Linked DNA regions of Homo sapiens: region 1 is linked to region 2. The links are contacts of gene promoters, found by promoter capture Hi-C in blood cells and fetal thymus (Javierre and others, 2016). All regions are on one chromosome and are shown on one strand. Each heading gives the region's core, a stretch centred on a gene start or on the middle of the fragment in contact. The rest is flanking DNA. Distances are from core to core; before and after follow the strand shown. Region 1 overlaps GLYATL3 (glycine-N-acyltransferase like 3). Region 2 holds the start of DEFB112 (defensin beta 112).

Region 1 (5,069 bases), core at 2,213-4,712, 520 kb before region 2:
AATGTGCAATAACACTACACACCTCTAATTAAAAGAAAACACAAATTTTTACTTTATAAAAATGATGACAAGAACATTATCTCTTACCGGTCACTGGGGATAGTCTTATGATATTAATAGCTTTAAGACTGAGAGCAAATTCTGAGGCACTGTCAGCCTCATAGGCTTTCAACTAAGTAATCCATTTCAGTTTTGAGAAATTGCAGCAATTCTTTTTCTTTATCTTAATATCAGGGGCTTTATATAGTAAACTAATAAAAACTTTCATACCATTAGAATAAATACAGTGAAAGCTAGTGGCCTATACAAATACTGCCAATGGAAAAGTTGAAGGTTGGTACTATTTAACCTAGAAAACAGCAGGCCGAGGAGACAGTTTTAAAGAACAAATATGGCCAGGTGCAGTGGCTCACACCTGTAATCCCAGCACTTGCCGAGGCGGGTAGATCACCCTGAGGTCAGGAATTCGAGACCAGCCTGGCCAACATGGCAAAACTCCATATCTACTGAAAATAAAAAAATTAGCTGGGCATGTTGGCACGCGCCTGTCATCCCAGCTGCTTGGGAGGCTAAGGCAGGAGAATCGCTTGAACTCAGGGGGCAGAGGTTGCAGTGAGCCACTGCACTCCAGCCTGGGCAACAATGCGAGACTCCCTCTCAAAAAAAAAAAAAAAAAAAAAAAGAACAAACATTTCTAAAGCATGCACATATGCTTGGCATATTAAGAGATTTTATTTCTTTTTTGGCCATGGATGCATAACCACAGAAGTTCTATTCTAAAACATTTTTTTTTTTTTTTTATTGAGCAAAAGATTAGGGCTTCAAGAATCTGGACTTACCAAGGCCTCAGAGAGGATTTCAGCAGAGTCAGGACTAAATAAAAGCAATTCTGAGGGTTTTTGTTGTTGTTGTTGTTGTTTACAGAAAGTGTTAAAAGAAAAACTTTAGACAGATTAAATTTAGCAACGTTGGTCTGGGTGCAGTGGCTCACACCTGTAATAATCCCAACACTTTGGGAGGTCTAGGATGTTGGATCACTGGAGTGCAGCAGTTGGAGGCCAGCCTAGCCAAAATGGTGAAACCTTGTCTCTACTAAAAATACAAAAATTAGCCAGGCGTGGTGGCACACCTGTAATCCCACACGCACGTGAGGCTGAGATACGAGAATCGCTTGAACCGGGGAGGTGGAGGTTGCAGTGAGCCGAGATTGCACCACCGCAACTCCAAACTGAGAGACAGAGCAAGGCTCTCAAAAAAAAAAAAAAAAAAAAAAAAAAAAAAAAAAATTCAGCAACGTTTATTTGAGCAAAGAACAGTTCATGAATCTGGCAGCACTCAGAATGAGAAGTTCAGAGTTATACCCACCAGTGGGAGATTTTATACGCCAGACACAGAAGCAAAGTAGGTAAATCCTCTGATTGGCAACAGTTAGGTATATTTGGGCATGGTCTGCTCACTTACCTGCCTGTGATTGACTTGTATAACAAACTCAGCTGTGCATTATAGTTCTAGGGTTGGTTTTGTGTCAAGTTAGGTTGCAGTTCAACACGCGGGGACTCAAGGTATGGAGGGAGCTGCAGGCCAAACTTAATTTATTTAACAACAGAAACACTTTCCTTAACCTGTGCTGAAGGCAAAAGCAAGTGAACATAAAATTAGAAGCAACGACTTAAATTTGATGTAATAAGTGTTTTGTCTTCTCAGAAATGAAACCCGGAAAGGTGTTGGTAAATCGGGAATGGTGGATTCTAACTCACTGAAAATCTTAGGTGCCCTCTCAGGGATGGTTTCTCAGTTTGAACCAATATGAAAAGAGTAGTTATAGGTCGGGCATGGTGGCTCACGCCTATAATCTCAGCTCTTTGGGAGGCCGGGAGGGGTGAATCACGAGGTCAGGAGTTCGAGAACAGCCTGGCCAACATCGTGAAATCCCGTCTCTACTAAAAATACAAAAATTAGCTGGGATGGTGACGGGTGCCTGTAATCCCAGCTACTTGGGAGGCTGAGGCAGGAGAATTGCTTGAACCCGGGAGGCAGAGGTTGCAGTGAGCAGAGATCACGCCACTGCACTCCAGCCTGGGCGACAGAGCAAGACTGTGTCTCGAAAAAAAAAATGTGTAGTTATGTATAACCACATGAGTCTGAGGTCCTATTTGTTTTTGTGTCATTCTGGTCTAGCAAGGGGCCTTCCCCACGACTAACCTACCTGAGTGTTGCCAATGCGGATCTACTCAACCGGACTTGGTCCCGGGGAGGCAATGAACAATGTCTCCGGTACATCGCCAACCTCATCTCCTGCTTCCCTAGTGTGTGTGTCCGGGATGAGAAGGGAAACCCGGTCTCCTGGTCCATCACAGACCAGTTTGCCACCATGTGCCATGGCTACACCCTGCCAGAACATCGCAGGAAAGGTTACAGCCGGCTGGTGGCCCTCACGCTGGCCAGGAAGTTGCAAAGCCGGGGATTCCCCTCTCAGGGGAACGTCCTGGATGACAACACGGCGTCTATAAGCCTCCTGAAGAGTCTCCATGCTGAGTTCTTGCCTTGTCGCTTCCACAGGCTTATTCTCACCCCTGCGACTTTCTCTGGCCTGCCTCACCTCTAGCCCAGTAAAAAACTGCAGTGGTTTTATTACTTTCCCTGAGCATACACACACTCTTGGCTGCCAACGAGGGGAGAGTTAAAATGGGAATCAGGGGACTCTTGAGTTGTTGGAAAGGGTCTGGAGAATATATACAGGATCCACTTGAGAAGCCTTAATTTTTCGTATCTCAGGTTTCTCCAGTAAATAGCTGTGGGGGTGAAGAGTAGCTGTGGCTGAAGACTGAGGACGATTGTCCTCCTGTAGGATCCACTGTAGGAGAATAGGTTCTAAAGCCAGCAGTTTTAGTGTACTAGGAGAAATTACTGCATGAGAACAAATGATTTAACAGAGGACCACGTGGCTACTGCTTTTTGATTGCTGCTTGGACCTCTGCTCTGTATTCTTAAAGCCACACCGCTTCCCTACTGCCATCATATTCCCCTGTCCCCACTGCTATGTCTCATCAACCTCTGTTCCTAACACCTCTGCCACCAAGTTCTCTGTAGAGTAACCTCCTTTTTCCCCTTTAATTACTTGCTCTTTACTTCTGCCTAGGACTCTAGCCTATAGTTCACTGCCCTGGGAATGTTCAAATATAGTGGTTCTTACATTTTAGTGTTTATCAGAATCACCCAGAGGGCAGGTTGCAACACACATCACTAGGCCTCTCCTTCTACGAGGTAGGGCCCAAAATTTGCATTTCTAACAGCTTCCCACTGCTTATTTGCCTTGGATGAATGACAATATGGGCATTTTGATGCTATAAACAAATGCTGTCACCATAGAACTAGACTTTACCTATAACCTATTTCAGCCCCCTTATTTATAGTCTACTTTCCCATATAAAACTAAGATTTATATATAGGGGTGTTTGGGGGTATGCAAATGAATATATAACATATATGCATACACATATATATACATTCTCTTCATTTCTTTTATATGTATAGGTATATACTCATAGAATTTTGATAAGATAATAAATTTTAACCCTTTGATTACATATGAAAAATTTGAGGACCAGAGAAAATAAATGACTTTTTCAAGATTATATTCTTTATAATCAGTACTGGAGGCAAAGCCAGAATGCTGCCATTTTAATTCCAATCTGTTATTTTCACTAAATCATGTATCCTTTTTTATAATGAAAATTAAAATGCTTACATAATTAAAATATTAATTTTAGTTTTCTCTTATTCTTGTCATTATTTCTTAATTTGGGTTCTGATTGCTTGTGTATGTATACCTTTCAAGGTCAGTAAAGAAAGAGATAAGCATCACCAGCTCTGTTCTCTATTTATAATAAAAGCAGGCACTAACACAATAGTTAGATTTGCCTTGTCTTGATAATGTTGACTTAGCTATATAGAAAATATTGGTTTCTTATCCCCAAGGAGGTCACAAAATTCTGACTACAAAGATAAGGGAAAATCCAACTTTCAGGCATTCATTCTGAGAAAAGGAAGCAAACTGGCTGAAGTAAAACACATTTTAATTAAAAAAATAGGACTCAGTAAGAGTAAATATATGCTTAGTTCATCCTGAGCCCACAGTTACCTGGAAACTTATCTAGCCTTGGATCCAGAGGGGAAAGCACCAAGTAACCAGAGTCCATAAACCTCTTAGGAGAATATGCCCTAAGGACGCTAATTATGTTTAGCATCGCTTAAGCATGAGTTAATCCTGCTTGATATATAGCAATATTATTATAGCCTTATTTTCTTCCTAATGATAATTTGCCTGACATTTAACGTTTAACTATGTGCTAATAATTGTACCAAATATGAGATGTATATAACTTAATCCTGGTGAGGGATAAGGTATTGCTTTGTTGTGGGAATTCTTGCTTAGAGGTGTTATGAGTCACCAAAGTCATGCAGGCTCTAAGTGGCCAAATCATGATCAGAACATGGGTTTGTTGGATTGCAAAGCCTATACTACTAGTCATTATGCTAATTGGCCTCTTAAGCAGCTTGGAACAGTTTGTAAATAATTATTCCCTTATCTCGTTACATTCTGAATTTTCTACCTTCACCCGCACCTCCAAAACAGACCCCATATTTGAAAGATTTTTGTTCCTACCAAATTGCTCTTATACTATTTTCTTACTTTCATCTTCCAGCTAACTATGTTGGATATAATTGCTCAACTTTTAACACTGTTTCTGACCCTTTTAAGGCATGTGCAGAGAAAGTCTGGAGTAAGGAGAGGACAAGGAGAAGAGAAAAACTCAAGAAGTAGAAACGGGGCCAGGCGTGGGGGCTCACACCTGTAATTCCAGCACTTTGGAAGGCCAAGGCAGATGGATCACTTGAGACCAGGAGTTAGAGAACATCCTGGCCAACATGGCAAAAACCCATCTCTATTAAAAATACAAAAATTAGCTGGGCATGGTGGCACATGCCTGTAAGCCCAGCTGCTTGGGTGGCTGAGGCATGAGAATCACTTGAATCCAGGAAGCAGAGGTTGCAGTGAGCCAAGATAG
Region 2 (4,830 bases), core at 1,877-4,376:
GTGATTGGTAAAGTGGTGTAATGGACAAGAGGGAAGAACCTTTAAAGGCTATGGGTCCTAAAACATAGGTTTGGAATAAAGGTGAGCCTAGGGTTACATGAGCTGGCCAGGTACTGAGTGAACCTGGAGCCTGTATCCACCGAGGCTGGCCTCGGGGCTGAGTCCACAGGTCCTTCCCTGATGACTATGGCTGTGGAGCTCACCTTGTTCTTGGACAAGCCTGAAACCTGGGGGTCAGCTTGGTGTTGGGGGGATCCAGAGCCCAGGAACACTGGGGCCAGCCTAGCTCTAGAGAAACTCTGGAAACCGAGTGTGATTATTGGGCCTAGCCTGAGTCTGTGGGGCTTGAACTAGCACTAGGGCTACTGGGCAGGCCTGGAGGGGCAGTGAGCTGAGACTTGATGGGCTGGCCTAGAGCCAGAGGCTGTCAGATCCGGCCTGGTGCCAGAGCAGACTTGGAAGCTCAGTCTTCAGGTACTGGTCTGAAGTCTGAGGCCATGGGGGCCTGCTCGGTGCTGGGTTCTACTTAGAAAGGGCATCCAGTGTTGGGTCCAAGGCTAATTTCTATGGTCATTTCCCTCTCTTTCCTTCACAGGGAGGGTATCTGTCTCCAGGCTGTGCTATCTAGGCTTGGGAGAGAGGTCCATGAGCAATGTGACACTATCTTTCCTACCCTCTTTAATGTGTCTTTTCTTATTTCTGTAATCTACCCAAGTGCTGTAATCTCTCACCTGGTTTCCTTAGCTCTTGTGAAGGCATTTTCGTGCATGGATAATTGTTCAAATTAGTGATTCTGTAAAGGAAGGAGCATTGAAAAGTCCCATTCCAACATCATGCTGACATCCAGTGAAACTTAGTCAAAAAGAATTCTTTTAAAACTAAGTTCCCAGTCCCTTATCTAGACTTTTGTTGCTCAATTGCCTTTTTGAGTTATCTTAATTAAACCGTGCTTTCAAATAAACAGAACACCTTTATCATTCTTTTCATATAACAATATACTTTTTATATCCAAAAATATCAGTATTTTGAACAGTAGTGATTGATAAAAATAGTTTTGCCTTGGCCAGGCGTGGTGGCTCACACCTGTAATCCCAGCATTTTGGGAGGCCGTGGCAGGTAGATCACCTCAGGTCAGGAGTTCGCTACCAGCCTAGCCAACATGGTGAAACCCTGTCTCTACTAAAAATACAAAAAATTAGCGGGGCGTGGTGGTGGGAGCCTGTAATCCCAGCTACTCCGGAGGCTGAAGCAGGAGAATTGCTTGAACCCGGGAGACGGTGGTTGCAGTGATCCAAGATAGTGTCATTGCACTCCAGCCTGGGCAACAAGAGTGAAACTCCGTCTCAAAAAAAAAAAAATAAATATGTCCAGCTGTTGAGTAGGAGGGAAACTGAGACAACAGTATAATTCCTAAGCACAATTACATTAAAACATTTTAAAAAGTAATAATGTTGCTGAGAACAATGGTTAGAAAACCTTTCTTCATGGAAATGATAAAAGGACATTTGTCTAGCCAGCATTTTATCAAAAAAATCGGCCTCTACAACCTTAAAATAAGATTTCTTTCTTGTTTTAAACATGAAATTCAGTCTTCATAAAGCTATGAGGTGAAAGACAAGAACATATAAGTAAACAGGGACTGAGGTAGAGAATATACTCAGAATATTTACTTCATTTCAGTCAAAAAGTATTGATTAAAATGTGCAAGACACAATTCTACTTATTTTGTTTTACCTGTGCTGATTTTCTCTGTCCCATGTCGGGCCTTTTCAAATATTGTGGAAGATGTATTTGTCTTTGAGTACATTTTTTCAAGTTTCAGTCTACATATGGTTGTCAATAATTTCATAAGAGTGCTAAGAGGTTGTTAAGAGCTCACTGTAAAGTGAAAAAATTACTTTAAAAGTAGGAGGAAAAATATTTTCAGAAATAAGGACACAAATGTAGTTGCCTCTATTTAATGGTCCTATATATTATAAAAGGTTTTACAAAATGATAAACATATAGTACATATGTTTAAAAATCCAGTTAAATGAATAAATGACTTGGCTATTAATAAGTTCACCTTGCATGGCTATTGTTAGGAAAAATAAATTAATACAGGCAAAAGGCTGAACAAATGCTAGCTATTAAAATCATTATTATGAAGAAAACCTATCAGTGTTTATTGAAATCTGTATAATTCTTTGTACCTCAGAAAAGTTCTAAATATAGAGAGAATTCTAATGAGCACACTTTAATTAATTTTTATAAAGAAGAAAAATTATTATCTGATTTAAATTAACTCCCTTGTTGGTTTACATTATTAACTGAAGTTCACCTCCTTGTCCCCTTTTGGTGAGAAATTATTAGCTAAAAAGCTATTTATGTTTAAATGTTAGGGCAGAATAACAGTAAAATAATGAGTTACTACAGATTTATTTTAAGGTTACCTCCTCTGATCTCAATACTGAAAGATATCTTGATAATCAGAGAAAGCAGCAAGATAAAGAAAAAGGAGAATTTAACTGGAAGTGAGCAGTAGACAAGTGCAGCTTGTCTCAATTGTTAATAAAATACAATCTGAAACTTTTAGCAAGACATTTTATCTGATTAACCTCTGCTATAAATATCACTGTGGGGATCAATGATTTCCAAGCATAATTCATAACTTTCCCAGTTTTTTCTAATCTATTAATAGATCAAATTCAGTTAAATTTGAGTGTTGAATAAATACACATTTCATGGATCTGTGAAATCAACGTAGCATTATTTTCTTCTAATCATTTACATATATGCATATATATGAATGTATATTTTCATGTAATTAAGGTGAATTACAGCCTTTTCTAGGATGCTGTGCTTGAAAAATTATTCAAATATTTTTACCTGAGAACTGTGAATAAATGTAATGTAACATGATGATGGTATTAATAAAATGTTTTATAATGTCAATTCTACTTTAAATAACCCAGCTCCCCGACTTTAATGCTGGCCCCTTGACCCCTCTAGCAATAATATTCATATTACCTGGTGGAATAAGGACTCCAAAGAAAAGCAAAATACAGAAAAAGAGAAGGATCTTCATTGTAAATGATTTCTTGGTATAAAACAGTGTACAGATCATCTGTCTGACTCAGCTGTTGTTGAAACAAGAAAAAAAAACCCTTACATTTAAAGAATTCTTCTGCATAGTTTTGACTACTGAAGCTTATTAAGAGTGAGAACATTTCTATGCTTGGTGCATAGTGCCATATTCAAAGAGATAGTGACTAGAAAAAGCTGCATTGTCACACAAAAGTTACATCTGCTGATTTCTCTTGCAGTCAGTTTCTTTAAGAAACTTTAACAGTTACAAGAATATGGGTATAAATTGCTAAGTGACCAAGATCCGAAATAGTCCTGCAGCAATTCACTTGATACCCCAGGAGTACTAGTTTTATATAATTCCATTCACTATTTTAATGGCCCCAGTATTAACAATGAATCTCAATGTAATAAGAAATCAAAACCACAGAACTTTAGACTGAAATTATCATACAGAATATTTAATTTTACATATAAAAATGTTGAGATCCAGATTTGTCAGGTAATTTTATAATCCATACCTTCTTTACTTAAATTATGTATGAACATAAATCATGACAGTATTCTGGTGTTTATGGATATTATCCTATCGAGCTTAGCTGTACCACAAAGAAAGGTCTGTCCCCTCAAGTAGGATTTGTGAATGTCAGTGCAAAAACATTCAATGTTATAAACCTAGAATGCATTTCTCTGTTTGTTTGTTGTTATTTTCTATGTAGTGAGAAGTTATTTCTGAGTTAATTTGTAAGTTTTCCAAAGTCGACTATAGCAGATATACGATAAAGAGTTGATATTGTTCCCCAGACCCCATAAGGAATAATGACCCATTGAATCTCTCTTACTATACTCATAAAGAGCACTAAGAATCTGGGTGTAAAGAAGCCCCAGTTAATATTAGTCATCCTTATTTTACATTTATGAGAATGTTATTTACAAAGGTGTTGCAACTGAAACATGTACAAATAATCAGAATTGTGGCAAGGCTTCCTGGGCAAAGTGATAAAGAGATATGATCAATAATTTTTCCCTTCTACAACCAAATTCTTCACTGATAAAATATGAATTAAAAGTAAAGGACTTGACTAGATGCAGTGACTCATGCCTGTAGTCTCAGCACTTTTGGGGGCCGAGACAGACAGAGCGCTTGAGCTCCAGAGTTCAAGACCAGTCTGGGCAACACGGTGAAACCCCATCTCTACAAAAATACAAATATTAGCCAGGAGTGGTGACACACGCCTGTAGTCTCAGCTACACTGGGATGCTGTGGTGGGCAGATCTCCTGAGCCCTGGGAGGTCGAGGCTGCAGTGAGCCATGATCATGCCGCTGTACTCCAGCCTGGGTGACAGAGTGAGACACTGTCTCAAAAAAAAAAGCTAAGAATTTATACTAAAAGCTAAGGACTTACTGGGGTTCACTGAATAGAGGATTTAACTATCATTTGACATAGTATAAGATTATTTAAACCCATCCCTATGTAAGATTAATTGAACAGATATTAATCAAACACCTACCATGTGCCTGTTACTTTTCTAGTTGCTGTGGTACAGCTGTGAAAAAGATAGGGCATTTGATTGTTGTAGATGAGACAAAGTTCTAATTGGGCACTGAAACCAAAACCCAAATTTCATTAGAAATAATTTATATATTATTATGCTTTCTTTGTTATCAGAACTTCTGTGAATAAACACAAAGAAAGAAGAGCAAAGAAGATAAATGTCTCATTGATTTTTAATTTTAGCTCTTTCCAAAGACATGACAAGGGT

Evidence for each region. The method cuts DNA at HindIII sites, captures the fragments that hold promoters and counts their contacts. A CHiCAGO score of 5 or more calls a contact.
Region 1: a fragment that was not itself captured here is called in contact with the fragment with the promoter of DEFB112 in region 2 in 1 of 17 cell types (erythroblasts); the score reaches 6.0 in erythroblasts.

What each region holds. Positions count from the first base shown.
Region 1 is chr6:49,524,310-49,529,378 of GRCh38, forward strand. GLYATL3 (glycine-N-acyltransferase like 3) reads left to right here. Exons shown (of 6, transcript NM_001010904.2): 6 at 2,179-3,769. The coding sequence ends at 2,605. Among named protein-coding and RNA genes, the nearest start is that of C6orf141, 24 kb to the right of the region's middle. The HindIII fragment of the contact is 8,083 bases long and covers 1-5,069 here.
Region 2 is chr6:50,046,803-50,051,632 of GRCh38, forward strand. It overlaps DEFB112 (defensin beta 112), which reads right to left and starts at 3,127. Exons shown (of 2, transcript NM_001369057.2): 1 at 3,010-3,127. The coding sequence starts at 3,067. The HindIII fragment of the contact is 4,636 bases long and covers 1-3,187 here.